Regions from separate parts of the Homo sapiens genome. Here region 1 is linked to region 2. Evidence: promoter capture Hi-C in 16 types of primary human blood cells and fetal thymus (Javierre and others, 2016). All regions are on one chromosome and are shown on one strand. The core of a region is centred on a gene start or on the middle of the fragment in contact, and the rest is flanking DNA. Distances in the headings are between cores, read along the strand shown. Region 1 overlaps SNX19 (sorting nexin 19). Region 2 holds the start of CHEK1 (checkpoint kinase 1).

Evidence for each region. The method cuts DNA at HindIII sites, captures the fragments that hold promoters and counts their contacts. A CHiCAGO score of 5 or more calls a contact.
Region 1: a fragment that was not itself captured here is called in contact with the fragment with the promoter of CHEK1 in region 2 in 1 of 17 cell types (fetal thymus); the score reaches 5.3 in fetal thymus.

The regions. Positions count from the first base shown.
Region 1 is chr11:130,910,328-130,913,027 of GRCh38, forward strand. It overlaps SNX19 (sorting nexin 19), which reads right to left. Exons shown (of 11, transcript NM_014758.3): 2 at 1,306-1,444; 3 at 1-43. Among named protein-coding and RNA genes, the nearest start is that of SNX19, 4.8 kb to the right of the region's middle. The HindIII fragment of the contact is 1,631 bases long and covers 436-2,066 here.
Region 2 is chr11:125,623,863-125,626,562 of GRCh38, forward strand. CHEK1 (checkpoint kinase 1) reads left to right here and starts at 1,301. Exons shown (of 13, transcript NM_001114122.3): 1 at 1,301-2,150. LOC118567325 (a long non-coding RNA gene) reads right to left here and starts at 2,032. Exons shown (of 1, transcript NR_170378.1): 1 at 1,275-2,032. RefSeq lists an enhancer at 1,467-1,976. The HindIII fragment of the contact is 3,445 bases long and covers 1-2,700 here.

The DNA.
Region 1 (2,700 bases), core at 1-2,500, 5.3 Mb after region 2:
CCCAATGGAAGATCTGGAAAGAGCTTTTTAGGACCCTTCACATCTTCCAAAAAAAAAAAAAATCAAAATATTCACTCATTTAACATTCACAGAGAGCTATTCCATATAAAACATATAAAGAAAACAGAACTATTGAATATATTTCCTTGGATTAAAAAAAACAATTTCAGGACTTCCAAATATACATACGATCCATATGATCCATATAACACTAAATTGTTACAAGAGAGGGCTCTGAAGTCCAGAGACCCAAGTTTAAATCTGGGCTCAATCCCTACTATAATGATGATCTTAGGCCATTTGTGTTATCTTTCTGACTCTGTTTCTCTTCTACAAGATGAGGATAATGAGGGCACCTATCTCACAGGCTGACGGGAGCATTAAAAGAGCTAATACGTGTAAAGTGCTTAGGAGAGAACCTGGCGCATATTTTCAAGCTTGGCTCAGTATTAGCTATTGTGTTAAGAAAGAAAATACATAATTTATGCCCAAACTTATTCAACTATTTGGGTAATCATTTTTAAAAAACAAAGTAACCAGTTACTAATCCTTAAGAGTGAAATTTTATTACATTAAAAAATATTTGGCTGGGCGTAGTAGCTCACATCTGTAATCCCAGCACTTTAGGAGGCCGAGGTGGGTAGATTGCTTGAGGTCAGGAGTTCAAGACCAGCCTGACCAACATGGTGAAACCCCATCTCTACTAAAAATACAAAAATTAGCCAGGCGTGGTGGCGGGCGCCTGTAATCCTAGCTACTCTGGAGGCTGAGGCAGGAGAATCGCCTGAACCTGGGAGGCGGAGGTTGCAGTGAGCCGAGATTGCACCATTGCACTCCAGCATGGGGGACAGAGCGAGACTCCATGTCAAAAAAAAAAAAAAAAGGTTCCCCATGCCTGAGAGTTGTCATAACAGCACACAAAAGATCTGGGTGTTAAGGAAAGAAGGTGGCAACAACTTCTGTGTAATATTTTAATATTTAAGAACCACCAATCTATGAATCTGGAAAAGTTAATTTAACTCCTCACACCAACTTACAGGCACAGGTGGAAATGTGAACACTTATTTTTTAATCTTAAACTAGATGGGGCTCCAGAACAAAGCAGTTGGCAGTAAAGGACTACCTCTGAAAGAATGTGATTGCTGCTGTCCAGCACTAAACTTCAAAACTCCTGAAGCAAATCCAGGGAGCAGAGAACCTTGAAACGGCATTCTCCTCCCCGATCCCTCCCATAAACCAACAGGCCAATCAGCGTGGCTCGACGTGGGAAGCAAGCGGGCAGTAGGGGTTGGGGAAACTCCTGACTTTTGATGAACTTTCGTAGATCTGGTTTCTCCTCCAGACGGGTCTGCAGATTCAAGAACTCCCGATAGCGACGATTCACAGTGTGGTAGGCCAGCTGCTGCAGGCCGCTGCTGTTTTCACCGTCAAGGGCTGTCTCGTACTGTTCAACGAACAAATTGATTGACTCAATCAGCCGGGTTTCAGCAATCTTCTATTCTGGCTTTACTGACTACTTGGTCAATGGCCACATAGCAAGAGTACGAAACTAAGAACAAAGGGAGGGAGTATGTTCCTATTCTGTTCCAGAACCTCCTATATCTAATTGCTTAGAAAGTCAGAAATGAGTTTCACTCCTCCGCACTACTACTTTCATCTGAAAGCTCCCTCTCCCAGATACTTTCTTGACTTATAAAAATGGCTACATAACTGTTTTTCAAATGAATATTTGAATAGAAGGCATAACATCCATAAAAATGATACTGCCTCTATCACCTTTAAATTACAGGGCTAAACATCATAAGGGGCAAACCATTTTTCCATTATACTCTCCCGTGATTATTTATATTAGTTAAGGGAAGAAGAAGTAATCCAAACAGCAGATATAAATCATTTGTTTATCTGGAATAAATTAAAGGGTATTTGTTTTGTTTCACGCAGATTAATTTTCCTAATTGTTATTCTTAGAGCTAAACTGAATTTTTCCTAAGTACGTATCATCTGTATCACAGAAGTCACATGAAAATTGGAGATGTGATAAGGGGTCAAAGTCCACTGTCTTCCTAAGCTTAGAGGGCTGGTATGTGGAAAAGACGACTTATATCTCATGTTCCCCAAAGAGTGAATACCACGGATGGCATGGAATCTGCAACTCAGCATGGGGGCACACTTCTTGACAGGGTAGTTAAGACACAATGAAACGCTGTGGGAGAAGTATATATGTGCGCCTTCTCATTAGGAATGGGCTATTATTTTTCGGTTGAGGTATACTGTGGGCAAGAGGTGGAAAAAACTACCTCCTCGTTGGTGGGAGTTGTGGCTGGTGCTTTACAATTTTCTGGAGACAGGGTATTCATTATGAGCTGATGTGAGCAAAGCAGTCCCTCAGAACAGCACTGAGAAGGAAAGACCAAGTAAGAGCAACAGGTGGCATTCAGGGTGGGGCTCTCAAGCCTGGAGCATTTGGAACTATGAGGCTTTCTGTGGAATATGCTGCTCCTCGAGGGCCAATTTTCAACACCGTTATGGTTACTTCCATCACATAAACCGAAAACTATTTACTATCAGAAAGTATAATAATATTGATATACAATTTAAAATCAGTTATATGTCCATATAAAAATCTAAACCCAATTTCAAACTACTCATAATTGGCTATATTATTTCGTTCTCATTTTTTACTTTACTCTTTTCTAATGC
Region 2 (2,700 bases), core at 51-2,550:
TTTTTTTTTTTTCAGGCTAAAAAGACTCCATCAGACACACAGGAAATTTGCAGGTCTTCCTCTTCGTATTCTTTGTTTTCAGCACACAGTGAGGAAACAAGAGAAAATGGGATAAATGATATAAAAACTTGCTTTTATTTTTATACCAGGCCCTGTGGCTCGCTTCTGTAATCCCAGTGACTTGGGATGCTGAGGTAGGAGGATCACTTGAGCTCAGGAGTTCCAGGCTGCAGTGAGCTAAGACTGCCCAATTGCACTCCAGCCTGGGTGACAGAGCAACACACCCTGTCTCCAAAAACAACAAACTGTAAAAAGATTACATGAAGCCTAATCTGTGATGTCATGATTCAAAACTATACACATAAGCATTTTAAGAGTTTTTTCCTTGATTTTTGTTCCTGACTTTGCTTCTTTAAAAGAAATGTGTGTTTTTGTTGTTGGTTGTTTGTTTTTGAGACGGAGTCTTGCTCTGTTGCCCAGGCTGGAGTGCAGTGGCACAATCTCTGCTCACTGCAGCCTCTGCCTCCTGGGTAGCTGGGATTACAGGCACTCGCCATCGTGCCCGGCTAATTTTTGTATTTTTAGTAGAGACGGGGGTTTCACCATGTTGGCCAGGCTGGTCTTGAACTGCTGACCTCAGGTGATCCATACGCCTCAGCTTCCCAAAGTGTTGGGATTACACGTGTGAGCCACCAGGCCCCGGCCTTGAGTAACATTTTATACTTGTTTCACTTTACTATTATCATAATAGCCAGTTATGCTTAGTGTTTGTATGTGGCCCAGTCTTAAGGACTAAGAAAATATATATGTATATATATAAAATATATACATATAAAAAAATATGTTTTTTTCCTACGGAATCATGCTGTTGCCCAGGCTGGAGTGCAGTAGTGCTCACTAACCTCTAACTCCTGGACTCAAACGATTGTTCTGCTTAGGCCTCCCAAGTAGCTAGGGCTACAGGGACACACCACCAAGCCCGACTAATTCCTAAATTTTTTTATTTGTAGAGATGGGGTCTCCCTATGTTCCCCAGGCTGGTCCTGAACTCCTGGCCTCAAGCCATTCTCCTGCCTCGCCTTCCCAAAGTGCTGGAATTACAGGCAGGAGCCACTGCGCCCGGCCAGTGCTGGAGAATGTAATGGAGATGATCCTGCCTATCCCTGAGTTCCAGTCTAGTTTACTGTCAGAGAATACTTATTTCCATTTTTCCTATTTTGTTCTTGAGTCTCTTTCCTCAGAATTTACTTTTCCACTTAAATGACGTACGCAGCTTTTAAATTTGCGTTGTAAGATTTATTTTGGCTCTCCCCGCCTGTTCTTTGCACATTAAAAATGAAAAAGTTTGTAGAACTAAGCTAAGCAGATGGTCTTCCTGCAAAAAGACCGGGCTGAAGTAAAGCATTGTTTTGGAGCTGGTTCACAGAAAAAAGGCAAAACTGGTTATCCTGACTTCAAGCTCCAACATAAACTGCTCGCTTTCTCCGGGAAACTTGCCCCGCCACACACACTTGACTGCGTGGCCAGTTCTTTCGAAGCCTCTCGCTCCCAACACGGAGTTCCTCCCATTTCTTCACAGTCGGCTCTCAGCAGCTGCTGCTGGTTTCTCGGCTCCAGCACCACGAGTACCGCACTCTGAGGTTTACAAAGCACTCTGCTTCACCGACTGTGATCCTCACAGTCCTGTCCGGTGGCCTCACGCAGGTGGCGGTGCAGCCTTTCAGGCCCAGAGCGGCCAGGAGCGAAGCCCGCAGCCCCGCCTGGAAGCGCAGCGCGGTCGGTCGCGCGCCCCTGAGGCTTGGAGGCCTGGGCTTCCCCCAGCAGCGCTCGAGCACCGCCCAGTCGAGCCTCACACCGGATGCCACTTCATATTTGGGCCCAGAGCTCAATTCGCGCCGATGCGGTCCGCCGTCCTTAAATCTCTTCAGCCAGGATCTCTCCCCGACTGCAAAGCAGCCCTGGGCGGGAGCGGCAACATCTCCACGTCACCCTTTTGGAGCCGCCGACATTCAGAGGGGCAGGACACGGGAACGCGCGCTGTCTTGCTTTACGGCGCGGGTGCGCGAGTTTGCGGCAGCGTGACGCCCTCAAGTTTTGGCGGGAAAAGCGCTGCATTTGGATTCCTGCAGTGGTGGGCAAAGGACAGTCCGGTGAGGAAGGGCGGCCGGTAGAGTAGGGAAGGTTTCTAAAGAAGGAGTTCGGGGTCTAGATTAGTGAGGGAGGGCATGGTGGGAGAAAGTTAGCATTGACTAGCGCAGGGGATTGGAGAGACTCCTGCGGAGGGGCGGTTTCGGAGGGTGGAGGAATGGTACCAGGAGGTTCCCGTTGTGGGGGCGGGGGCAGGAGGGACTAACCCGCTGCTAGCTAAGAACCCCAAGGAAGAGTCCCAGCCCTTCCTTTCGCCTCTGGGGGCAGTTTGGCCCCGCCCCGGCCTTTGGGACGGGTGGGGCTGTGGATGGGGATGGGAATTGGAATTGAGCAATTGGGAGGAGGCGCTGCCGCAGGCGTTTTCTGCCCCATACCGCTCCCTATATCCTCTTCCTCTCTTCCCCAGACCCCCACCTCTCCCTCCTCCTTCCCCAGTCGTTCGCCGGAAAGCATTTGTCTCCCACCTCTTCATAACAACAATTAATTTCCTCTGGGGCCTGAGGAGGGCAGAATTTCAACCTTCGGTGTGCTTGGGAGTGGCGATTGTGATTT